4 separate regions of the Homo sapiens genome follow, and all the other regions are linked to region 1. The links are contacts of gene promoters, found by promoter capture Hi-C in blood cells and fetal thymus (Javierre and others, 2016). All regions are on one chromosome and are shown on one strand. Each heading gives the region's core, a stretch centred on a gene start or on the middle of the fragment in contact. The rest is flanking DNA. Distances are from core to core; before and after follow the strand shown. Region 1 holds the start of AKT2 (AKT serine/threonine kinase 2). Region 2 holds the start of PAF1 (PAF1 component of Paf1/RNA polymerase II complex). Region 3 holds the start of EID2B (EP300 interacting inhibitor of differentiation 2B). Region 4 holds the start of CLC (Charcot-Leyden crystal galectin).

What was found. The method cuts DNA at HindIII sites, captures the fragments that hold promoters and counts their contacts. A CHiCAGO score of 5 or more calls a contact.
Region 2: the fragment with the promoter of PAF1 here is called in contact with the fragment with the promoter of AKT2 in region 1 in 1 of 17 cell types (activated CD4 T cells); the score reaches 6.5 in activated CD4 T cells.
Region 3: a contact is called between the fragment with the promoter of EID2B here and the fragment with the promoter of AKT2 in region 1, in 3 of 17 cell types (neutrophils, M1 macrophages and erythroblasts). The highest score is 7.9, in neutrophils.
Region 4: a contact is called between the fragment with the promoter of CLC here and the fragment with the promoter of AKT2 in region 1, in 3 of 17 cell types (naive CD8 T cells, fetal thymus and total B cells). The highest score is 5.3, in naive CD8 T cells.

What each region holds. Positions count from the first base shown.
Region 1 is chr19:40,283,895-40,286,796 of GRCh38, forward strand. AKT2 (AKT serine/threonine kinase 2) reads right to left here and starts at 1,451. Exons shown (of 14, transcript NM_001626.6): 1 at 1,287-1,451. RefSeq lists enhancers at 476-615, 1,772-2,603 and a silencer at 986-1,485. The HindIII fragment of the contact is 30,037 bases long and covers 1-2,902 here.
Region 2 is chr19:39,389,745-39,392,646 of GRCh38, forward strand. It overlaps PAF1 (PAF1 component of Paf1/RNA polymerase II complex), which reads right to left and starts at 1,362. Exons shown (of 14, transcript NM_019088.4): 1 at 1,074-1,362; 2 at 516-545; 3 at 325-417; 4 at 1-17. The coding sequence starts at 1,120. MED29 (mediator complex subunit 29) reads left to right here and starts at 1,634. Exons shown (of 4, transcript NM_017592.4): 1 at 1,634-1,894; 2 at 2,720-2,778. The coding sequence starts at 1,679. It also overlaps a transcript of SAMD4B not described here. RefSeq lists a silencer at 20-151 and an enhancer at 1,689-1,978. The HindIII fragment of the contact is 958 bases long and covers 741-1,698 here.
Region 3 is chr19:39,531,486-39,534,387 of GRCh38, forward strand. It overlaps EID2B (EP300 interacting inhibitor of differentiation 2B), which reads right to left and starts at 1,367. Exons shown (of 1, transcript NM_152361.3): 1 at 1-1,367. The coding sequence starts at 1,317. The coding sequence ends at 832. The HindIII fragment of the contact is 7,702 bases long and covers 45-2,902 here.
Region 4 is chr19:39,736,571-39,739,472 of GRCh38, forward strand. It overlaps CLC (Charcot-Leyden crystal galectin), which reads right to left and starts at 1,459. Exons shown (of 4, transcript NM_001828.6): 1 at 1,368-1,459. The coding sequence starts at 1,382. The HindIII fragment of the contact is 8,050 bases long and covers 1-2,902 here.

The sequences.
Region 1 (2,902 bases), core at 201-2,700:
GGGAGTGTAAACATGATGTGTGACCGAGCTGGTAACTGGGAGACACAAACAGCTTCGTGGCCAGCGACAGAGGAGCATGTAGTGGTCTGCGTTGGTTCCTGGACCCTTCACATCCACTGCCAACCAAGTTCAGCCCACGAGTGAACTCCTGCTGCTTCTCTGGGAAGGTAGGAGTGGATGAAGTTGAAAAGCAGCCCATTGGAGGCTCTAGTTACTCCAGCCCAGGCGTCTTGCTGAGCCCCAAGAGGTCTCCAAATGAGAGGAAGAGGTCCTCACAATCCCAAGATCAAGATGCCCCCAGAGAGCTTCCCTGGGGGGAAGAGGTGTTCCCCCAAACACTCCTTCCTCCCAAGTTTTAACAAGCGGGTGCAGGGGCACGGCTCCTCAAATCCAAGCCCAATCCCTCTTCCTCTTCAGAATGTTAAGGCTCAGACAACTTCAGTGACTTCTAACACAGCTTTCCTCCCTCCCCTATGGAAGGAAAGAACTGTTACTGCCTGGTAAATAATCTGAGAGGGTAATGGAATCCAGAGCAGCACCTCCATGGTCCAAAGCACCCCAGTAACCATGACGTTCCCTCCAGAGTCGTTAAGAAGTTCAATAAAGGCTGAGATCAGTGTAAACCCCCAACGCCACACACGTCAAATACAGGAAACAGAAACCCCTCCTCACCAATCGGCATCACAGTCCTCCCAAAATACGCCCCTAAAACCCACTAGGGCCTGTCCCGCCCCGTCCCAGTCCCTTAAAGATCACAAACATCACAGTCCTCTGATTTGGGTTCCCCTACGTTCTAAGCAGGGCTCCCCCAACGCCGTGGTGATATAACCCAGCCACAGTTGGGGAAGCATCCTCCCCAGAAGCCCCCACCCCTGTAAATACAGCACAGCAACGGCTTCCACAGCGCCAAAAAGGTACAGCCCTCTACACTTGATGCGGCGCGCCCCCTCGATAGCTTAGCCCGCGCACGCCAGGCTCGATCTGCCCGCCGCGCCCGAAAGGTCCAGCCCCCGGCCCGCGCACGCTGCGGCCTGCGCTCCCCGTCCCGCAAACTTGCAGCGCTCCCCCCACCGCCTCAGTGGTATGGCCCGCCGCCACCGCCCCGGCCCCCCGAGGCTGGTCCCACCGCCCCCGCTCGGCCACCCCCACTCAGCTCCTGAAGGAGGGGCTCGAGGGCCGCGGTCCCCCCGCCGGGCACGGGTGGTACAGCCCATCGCGGCACCGCGGGGGGCCCGGACGCGACCATCGTGGGGGGGGCGTTCGGGGACACGCGCTGGCGCACTCACCTGTCACCGGCAGCCGCCCAGCCTCTCCGGCGGGGCTCTACCCCCGCCCATCGCCACGCTGCGCTGGTTCCCTTTCCTTGTGTTTCCCGGCAGCGGCAACGGCGCCGGCAGCGGCAGCGGCGGCGGCGACGCCTCCTCCGAGGCAGGCCCAACGGCTAGCACGGCGCGGCCCCCCCCGCCCCCTCCCCCCAGCCCCCGCTTACCGCCCCCTCCCACCCTCTGGACGGAAATACCGCCCTCTCGCGCCACAAACAGGAAGTGACGTACAAAGAGCCAGAGACGAACTCTGAGAGAGCGAGAGCGCAAGAGCAGGGCAGAGAAGGAGGCGGGCTCACAGCAGGGCGCCTGCGCACATTAGACAACTTTGGGCCTGTGTGGGTTAGAGATGGGCCTCGCTAGGCCGTGGGGCGGAAAGGCGAGATGGGGCTACGCAGGCGCACTAGGACTCCGACGTCTGCTTTCCCTAGGGCCTAGCCGTAGTGATTATTTCCCGGCAGCCCCTAGTCCGTATTTACATACGCTTTGATCTTGTTTTACTCAGTTCTGGGTTCTGACGCTCTTAAAGGACCCCGGAGCGGGAGTTAGTTAGGAGGGGTTTCCTTTTCAGTGTGCTCGTCATGGTTGAGCTCAGGCTCTGAAGCCACACAACCCCAGACTTGAATTTCCTCCTTTCTGGTGACTGTGGGCAGAAGGCTTGACCGTTTTCTGTGCCTCAGTATCCACATCTGCTAAATGGAAACAATCATCGCTGTGTCGCTGGCTTTTGAACCATTTTAATGTAAACAAAACGGTTTTTACCAATTAGTTCATTACTGCAAGATATTAATGCCACCTGCTCTCATCGTACATATTCCAGTGAATCTGGGATATAACATTTTATAATGCAACTTGGGCCCATAAAGGCCTTAAAATCACCCTGCGGCCGGGCGCGGTGGCTCACTCCTGTAATCCTAGCACTTGGGGAGGCCAAGGCAGACGGATCATGAGGTCAGGAGTTCGAGACAGCCTGGCCAACATAGTGAAACCCCGTCTCTACTCAAAATACAAAAAAAAAAAAAAAAGCCGGGCATGTCGGTGTGTGCCTGTAATCCCAACTACTTGGGAGGCTTGAGGCAGGAGAATCGCGTGAACCCGGGAGGCAGAGGTTTCAGTGAGCCGAGATCATGCCATTGCACTCCGGCCCGGGCGACAGTGCAAGTCTCCGTCTCAAAAAAAAAAAAAAAAAAGAAAAGAAAGAAAAAAGAAAAAAAATGACCCTGCAAGAAAAGAGCTTTGCACAGATCCTAATCCGTATATTAGCTAGTATACTGGACAGCTGTGAGACATCTGGCTCCCAGCCCCTCCTCTCTCATAGGGGATTGTGCTGCCTCCTGAATTTGGGTTCCAGTATGCCATATAACTTGGCAATTGTATGCATTGGTAAGTGAGAAAAATGCCTGACTGAGAGTTGAATCCTGGGTCCACCTCAGTCTGTGAGAGTGTTTCAGGCAAATCCTGCTGAGGGTTCGGCTTTCGTTTTCTGAGACGTAAACCTAATGCTGGAACTAGCCCTTTCTTATTTGGTTTCTAGCTTGGAACTTGCTGCTTGGTATTCCTAATTCCCGGTCTTCCCCATC
Region 2 (2,902 bases), core at 112-2,611, 890 kb before region 1:
CTTTGTACTGGACGAACCTGGGTGGGGAAACACCTATTGTGGTGTTTGGATTCCAGCTTCACCCCTCACAGCCCTGCTTCCCAGAGGCGGAGCTTCTCTGGGGAGGAACTCAGAATGAAGTGTCCCCCATGGCAGAGTCTGAAAGCTGGCTCCCCAGTGGGAAGGGACTTGGACACTGCTTGCTCCATTAACAATTGAGCAGCTACTACTATGTGCTAGGGTAGGTACTGTGCTAGGCCCTGAGCAGACAGCAGCCAACGAGACAAGCAGTCCCTGCCTTCAAGGAACTCATACCTGAGTAGTTTTCCCATTCCTTAGTCTCACCTGTTCTGGTCGAAGGGGTAGGTGATGAACTTGGGGTCGAAGGGGATATCAGGGAGGCTATTGCAGTACTTGACTCGGCAGACCACTCCAGACCTAGGAACATTAGTGGCTCAAAAGTGGGCCCCCGCTGCCCCACCTCTGCTCCCAGCCCCACTGCCCCACCGCTCCTGGGAAAGCACAGTGGGGCTCACCTCTCAGGCAGAGTCCGGTGGGAATTGGGCCTAGTGGAGAAGAAAGAAACAGTGATAGGTGGAGAGGACGGGATTGACAGGAGAATGAAAAAGGCTTCCCCAACCTTTCAAAAGGTAGGAGGGGTGACAAATGCTGGTTTCTTTGGGTGGTGGTGTGGGGAGTGTCCAAATGCTTTAATGGAAGGAGACAAATGTTCAATTTATTTAGGAAGAAATGCCCCCAAAAGCTTTAATGAACAAGGCCAAGTGCTCAATCCCTTTTGCAGGAGATGGCTTCAAGTGCTTTAATAAAGAACCATGTACTCAATCGTCTTCGGAAGAGGGGTCTCCAAACGGTTGACTGGAGGGATCCCTTCTGGAGGGAGTCTCCAAAAGCCTAATCCCTGAACTGCACGGCGGGGAGGAGGGGAACACCTGAATCTCAGAAGGAACCCGCCCCCTTCGTCAAAGGTGAGCGCTTCATGACGTCACGGGCAGACCTGGGGGCTGGTGACGTTGTTCAGCAGAAACCCTCTCCCGATCCCCCGCCTTGCTGCAACAGAAAAGCGTGGCGCCTACCTGTGGCCATCCTCCCGCTGGGCCTGGGTCTGGATGGTGGGCGCCATAGCGACGAGGCGACGGCAGCCCGGACGGGGTCCTAGCGGGACCGAAGGGGGACGCAGAGGGGCGTGCCGACTTCAGGGGACGCCTGATCCGAGGAAGGCCCAGCTTGGCGCCGCTCCCCGCGGAAAGTGGGTTGAGATGAGGTGGGCGGGCGAGAAGAGCTCCAGCGAGACTCAGGTGAACGCGCAGGCAGCACCGGGGACGGACTCGAAGCTCCGGTTCCACCAACTGCCGCCAAGACGCTGAGGACCCAACGGGTCTCCTCAGGCCGCGACGCCTTCGGGGAAATGAAGTCCGGCTCGGAACCACACACGGATTGGCGAGCGTCTGGGTGAAGGGCGGAGCGAGGGAGAGAGGTGCTTCTGTGATTGGTGGAGAGATATCTCAGTCTGGACGCAGATTTGAGAGTGACGTAACGTTGGGGCACCTCCTTCCCCTCCATTGGCTTAATTGCCTAGGGGGCGGGACTAACTAGCAAACGGGGACTAGAAATAGGGATGCTGAAAAGCAACGGGGAGAGACGCAGTCGTAACGCACTTCCGGCGGTCTACGCGAGGAAGATGGCTGCATCCCAGCAGCAAGCTTCAGCGGCTTCCTCAGCTGCTGGTGTATCGGGTCCTAGTTCGGCTGGCGGCCCGGGTCCCCAGCAGCAGCCGCAACCGCCAGCACAACTGGTGGGCCCTGCCCAGAGCGGCCTCCTGCAGCAACAGCAACAGGACTTCGATCCTGTGCAGCGTTATAAGATGCTCATCCCGCAGCTGAAGGAGAGTCTACAGGTGATTGGCCTTAAGCAGCGAGAAGCAAACTGGATTTGGTAGTCTAGAGGGGCAGGCCGAGGGCCAGGTTAGTCGGAGAGAGCGCTAAGCAGAAAGAGGAATAGAACCTGCTGTTTTGGCCTGGCTGGTGCACGCCTGTGTTCCCAGCACTTTGGGAGGCCGAGGCGGGCGGATCACTTGAGGTCAGGAGTTCAAGACCAGCCTGGTGAAACCTCGTCTCTACTAAAAATACAAAAATTAGCCGGGCATGGTGGCGCGCGCCTGTAATTACAGCTACTCGGGAAGCTGAGGCAGGAGAATCGCTTGAACCCAGGAGGCGGAGGTTGCAGTGAGCCGACATCGTGCCATTGCACTCCAGCCTGGGCAACAGAGCGAGACTCCGTCAAAAAAATAAATAAATAAATAAATAAAACTGTTGTTTTCTGCGAGACCTAAGCGAAGCTCGGCAGAGATGGGATCAGCGCTGATGCTGAGGCTGGGACTGGCCGGAGCTTGAGTGAGGGGTTGTTTAAAGGAGAAACTGGGCTCTGGTCGTTAAAGCCTGAGGAGAGTACTGGCTTATACGGAGATTCTGCCCTTGATTGATAGGTGAGGGAGGACCCTTAGGTTATTGGCGAGAAGCTCAGGTGAGAGCGGGCCTCTGGGAGGATGGAGTGGTGACAGCTATAGGAATGGAAACGAATATTACTTTGGAAAGTCAGGAGGGAAGGTGCCAGTTGAAAAGAAAACCTGAGACTGAGTGATCTCAAGAAAGAGTGTAGATCTGCCAGAGGTATTCCCTTTTGTTTTTCCATTTCCCACGTGTTTTGTTTTTGTTTTGACTAGACCTTGATGAAGGTTGCGGCCCAAAACTTGATTCAGAACACTAACATCGACAATGGACAGTGAGTGCAGCCCCCTTTACCAGGATATTCTATTGCCTTCCCAGTCTTTGAAATTCATCTTTCCTTCTCCTGCTCCCCGCCCACCTCACCTTCTATATTTACTTTTTTTTTTTTTTTTTTTTGA
Region 3 (2,902 bases), core at 117-2,616, 750 kb before region 1:
GTTGAGTCTTGTGAATAGAATACATATTCTAGAATAAAATAAAAAGCTTAAAATTAACAAAAAACAAGTTTATTCCACACCTACCCAATTTCACATAGACTTGAAAACACTGATCATATAATACGTGGTTTTTTCTATTGAATATTTACTGTTCATCTAAAGTACCTCAGAAAACACAAATATGAATCTTACACTAGGATTTGTTGACATGACCACAAATTGTGAAATTTCAAAGTCCTCTCAATAGCCTTCCAATCCTAGTAACTCAGGTACACCTGGATTCCTGACAACTCTATTTCTTTGTTTTCTTTCATCACTTAGGTTCATTTCTATGGGTTCTGTTATTGGCATTTTTTTTTTCTCATATCTTTGCAAAACCATCCTTTATGGTGAAAGTCATGAAGGATTCTTCACAAATGCAGGAAAATGCATTGCTAACAAAGTGCTAAGTCAGAAGTGTCTTGGGACCTGTTTGAAAACAAGATTCGGCCGGGCGCGGTGGCTCACGCCTGTAAAGTAATCCCAGCACTTTGGGAGGCCGAAGCGGGAGGATCGCTCGGGTCCAAGCGTTCGGGACCAGCCTAGGGATGCGAGACTCCCTTCTCTATTTAAATAATACTAAAAAAGAAGAAAGAAAACAAGATTCAACAGTCTTGTCTGTTTCCATTTCGGAGTGTGCTTCCTCCTTCAATTGCACATTGCCGTATTCCCTTCCAGTTTGCATTCCCCCTAATGACTGAGTTAACTAAACTGGCACAGCCTGCCTGTTCTTTTGATCCCAAAAGGGTCACTTGGCTATTCCTTGCCACCAATGTCATCATCACAGCCGACTCAGTCGGCCAGAGGACTGAGGGCCTCGGAGGCAGTCAGCGCTACCGTAAACGCGACAGCAGCGAAGTCCATCTGCGGGGGATCCGCGTCAAAGGCTGCTTCCCTCGCCTTGCAGCCTTCCACAAACAGCCTGCGGCGTTCCTCGAAATCCCGTAGTAATCTGACCGGAATCATGGAGCTACCATCCAGATACTCGCGGAACAACAGCTGCCGGTTAATTTCTAAGAAAGCGAGCTGCTGATGGGGGTCTGGCGCGGAGGCCAGGCCCGGGACGCTGCTGGGGATGGGCCCGGGCACAGGGCCCGGCATCCGCGCCATGGACCGCGCAGCTTCGGCCACTGGGCCTTCCCGAGCCTCCTGCACCCGAACCCCGCCGCCGACTGCCCCCCGCAGTACGTCGCTGACGCCACTCGCGGTGCCCACCTGTGGGACACTGCTATCTCCGGGGAGCTCGGACATCTCCAACAGCCCAGTCGGCTCCGCCATAGTCCCAGCGTTTCTACGGAGACTGGAATAACGGCACTGCACTGCTGTATGCGAGACCTGCGCATGCGCGAGTCTCAGTGAGCGCGTAAACGCTGTGCGTGCCAGAGTGTGCGCATGCGTAAGCACGGTGGCCAATCCTCTAGCGTTCCCTAGCGGTCCTGAGTAGCCATTACGTCTGTAGCCGCCTCTGGTCCTCTGAGCGCCTGAGGACCTGCGGACTGCGCGGTATCTTAAATTACAACCACTTCAGTATTAATGTAAAGTTCCTTATACGGTCATTTTCCAGCTCCTGTCTTTTTTTTTTTTTTTTCAGACTGGGTCTCGCCCTGTCGCCTAGGCTGGAGTGCAGTGGTGCGATCTCGGTTACTGCTGCTTTGACCTCCCAGCCTCAAGCCATCCTCCTGCCTCAGCCTCTGGAGTAACTGGAACTACAGGTGCACACAACCACACCCAGCTGATTTTTTATTTTTTGTAGAAATTGGGTCTCACTATGTTGCCCAGGCTGGTCTCGAACTCCTGGACTCAAGTGATCATCCTGCCTTGGCCTCCCAAAGTGCTGGGATTACCGGCCTGAGCCACTCGGCCTGGCCTGTAAGTAATATTTTGACACTGGAAGTTTGGGGGTTTCCCAAAACCACCTTTAGGTTTGATAATTCCCAGAGCTCATTGAAATCTGTTATATTCACAGTCATGCTTATTACAGGCAAAGGACACAGATTAGAAGAGATGTATAAGGCACAATCTGGGATGGGGAGGGTTCCAAATGTGAAGTTCCTGTGTTCCTAGGGATGTGTTACCCTTTGTCGTCCATGTGTGGCAATAAGTGTGGGGGTAGTGCTAACATAGGACTCTCACCCAGGCTTTGGTGTCCAGAGTTTTTACTGGGGTTTTACTACCTAGGCATGCTTGATTAAACCATCGTCCATTTTGTTGAAGTCAATCTCCAGCCTCCTACCTGATATCACATGGCTCCAAGCCCCAACTCTCTAATGATATGGTTAGCCTTTCTGTGTGGCTAGCTCTGATCCTGATGATAACCCAAAACGTGAAAGTCTATGTTCCATTTAAAATCAGTCAGCTGTGGCTGGGTGTAGTGGCTCATGCCTGTAATCCCAGCAAGTTGGGAGGCAAAGGTGGGAGGATCGCTTGAGCCCATGAGTTTGAGACCAGCCTGGGCAACATAGTGAGACCCCTGTCCCTACAGAAAAAAAAAATTAGGCAGGCATGGTGGCATGTGCACCTGTAGTCTCAGCTATTCAGGAGGCTGAGGTGGGAGGATGACTTGAGCTTGGTAGGTGGACTGTGCAGTGAGCTATGATTGCACCACTGCACTCCAGCCCTGTATGACAGAGCAAGACCCTGTCTCGAAAAAAAATCCTTTGAATTTAGCTGGAATCCAAATATGAGAGTTGCTGGCAATTGAACTTCAGGAGGATCCATCTAAAAATTCTGACCTATCACAGGTCGTGTCTGGGAGCTGATTGGGTTGGAAATCATTCTGACTCACGTGTACCTTACTTTGTTTCTACAGTTCTCTTGGAGAGATGGAGTTCTCCTACATGTGACATATATGCTTCAAAAAGCA
Region 4 (2,902 bases), core at 209-2,708, 550 kb before region 1:
TCGAGACCAGCCTGGCCAACATGGAGAAACCCCATCTCTACTGAAAATACAAAAATTAGCCAGGAGTGGTGGCACAAGCCTGTAATCCCAGCTACTCGGGAAGCTGAGGTATGAGAATCGCTTGAACCCGGGAGGTGGAGGTTGCAGTGAGCCGAGATTGCACCACTGCACTCCAGCCTGGGAAACAGAGCGAGACTCTGTCTCAAAAAAAAAAAAAAAAAATTACTGCAGGTTTGAAGGCCTGGGCTTCAGTGAACCTCTTGCATATGCCCCCCAGCAGCTGGAACTACGGTATGCAACACCACATTCAATAAATTTTTAAATTTTTGGAAAGATGAAATCTTGCTATGTCTCCCAGGCTGGTCTACCAGTCCTGGCCTGACATGGGCCTTTCAATTCGGCCACCCAAAGTGCTGAGACTACAGGCCTCAGCAAACATCTTGATGAATATCCACTGTAAGCTCTGCCTTGTACCTTCCTGGTTTTGGGTGATTCAGTCTCTTAAATCAAGTCCCTCAATGTCCTTCTCTAGCATCCTGGCACTCAATGGGAAGGCCAGGCTAGGGTAGGAGACAGGGAGAGACCTGAGGCTGGAGGCAGGAGCCAGTGGTCACTGTGTGCAGATTCCACCTAAGGAACCATCAGCCCCATCGTCTGTTTCTCACCCCCATTCTGCTTGGGAAAAGGCACCTGAGAATTCATGCATTCTGCTCTCATAAATGCTCAGAGATAAGTCCTCGGTAACTCAAGGGCCCCAAGATCCCACAAGTTCTGTCACCGGGGATCCACAGTGATGCACAAGGGAAGTTAGACAGAGTACTGCTATGTGGGGAGGAACCTTCACATGCACAGAAGGCCACATGCATGTTCCCAGTTCAACACCCAGTCACATTCCAGCACACACACTCACAGTCACACAGAGCCGTGCCACTCACTGAGTCACACACACCTGCTCACTGTGCATATAAAGATGCTCATGCACTGGTCCGGCTGTGCTCACACACACACTCACATCACAGTCATGAAGACAAAACACAGTCACCTGATTACAATCACTTACACACCCACCCATATCCTGGAGGGCCATACACATCCCGTCTAAAGTCACATCATTTTTAGCAGAGTTTACTCTCATCAGATACCATCACATGCTCACAGAGGGTCACAATGTTCCAGCATCCACACCCCCTACCCCCCTACCCCAGGAGCATCTCAGATACCATAGCCCTAGGGTCTCTCTTCCACACACCCACAACTCTCAGTAAAGCATTCACAGTAGAAATTTTCATATTTTCATCCCATAAAATCTCCCTCTTCCCTTTTCTGTGTGACCTGAGATTATTGAAGGCTGTGCCTTTTTAACTCACGGGTAGCAGGGACATTGTTGTCTCCTTCTGGGTGGCTCTTCTGAATTGTGTCCAGACTTCTGTGTGAATCTCTGAGCTGCAGAATTTAAATGGCCCCTATCAGCCCTGCCTCTGGCTTTATTCCTGATTCCAAGCCCCTCCCAGGAAGGTTTCCTCACACAGTGAGAAGGGGTGGGGTGTCAGAAACAGACTCAGTCACAACCACACCTGTTTGGAGGCCTGTGCCTGTGATGCAGCAGAAACGACAGTGAGGGAGGTACTGGAGGAGGAAGGGGTCACCAGGGAAATGCACAGATAAAGACGATGGAGTGAGGATGAGTGGTGTGAGTTCCAGCCTCCATGCTTCTCATGAAGCCTTTTCTCCACTGTGCAGAATCTACCAGGAAGGTGTGCGTTCTCCTAACCTGTGCAATGGTAAAAAGCTGGAGATCCTGGGGGCAAGGCACTTGGCTTTGAAAGAAAATCCTCCTCCTCCTTCTCCAGTGGTTCTGGGAGAGCATAGATCTTGATCATTCGCAGGACCTGGGGACAGAAGTAGAGAAAACACTTGTGTCTTCTTTACCCACCCTCAGATCCCTTGGCTCTGCCAGGTGAGAGCCACTCCCACTCTGTCTCTCAGACACCTGGGCTTTAGGTACGCCCTCTTATTTCCCTATTTCTTTTCATGTGAATCAAAATCTGAGGCTGTCGTTCTCCTGCAGATTCTTGGAGAAAGGTGAGATTTCTCACTCATAAGTGGGAGCTAAGCGATGAGGATGCATTAGCATTAATATTAGTTGTGCTTGACCCGACAATAAATTCCACTTTCCCTGATCTAAAACCTTGACAATTCATTTCCAAGCATGCACTCCAAGATTCTGCTCATATAAATCAGCACAATCACACAGTTCTTTTGGTATATAACGTATTTCCTTAAGATTAATTTGTAATGTCATCCCACTGCATTCCTTGGGTTTTGACTCTGGGTATGGACATGGAAGCAATGAAAAGGGTCAGAGGCCACAATTAAGGAGCTTTGGAAACCCCGTTCTAGGCAACCACCCTCACACCCTGCCCAGAACTGTAGCTTGTAAGAAATTACCACAGAAGGGAAAGAGGAACTGCTTTTCCTTGCAACAGATATGCAATAGAATTTTGAGTAATATCCCAGCTATTCATCTGAACTGGGGAAGAAATATCAGTTCAGGGCGTCTGGCCACCTAGTAAGCTGTGGATAAAGATGTTGATGTTATTTACTTCTCAGGCATTCCAGCAATCCTTTCAGTGATGCAGAGAGATTGATCTTCTTTAACTTCCATATCCTCTGCACAATAGCCCATACTTCTGCTGGTTGCAACTATTTCTTCAGAAATCCATTATGCCCTACGACTTGCTTTCAGTCTTTCTTTTCAACTACATCTTTCCAAGCACACACTGTTCCCCCGAAAAACTTTAGGTTTTGTGTATGAAATTATATAATATCTGGGATTTGCTCTAAAATAATCTGGGGATGACAGTTCTCTCCTTTTGCAAACATTTGAAATTTTTTACAGTAC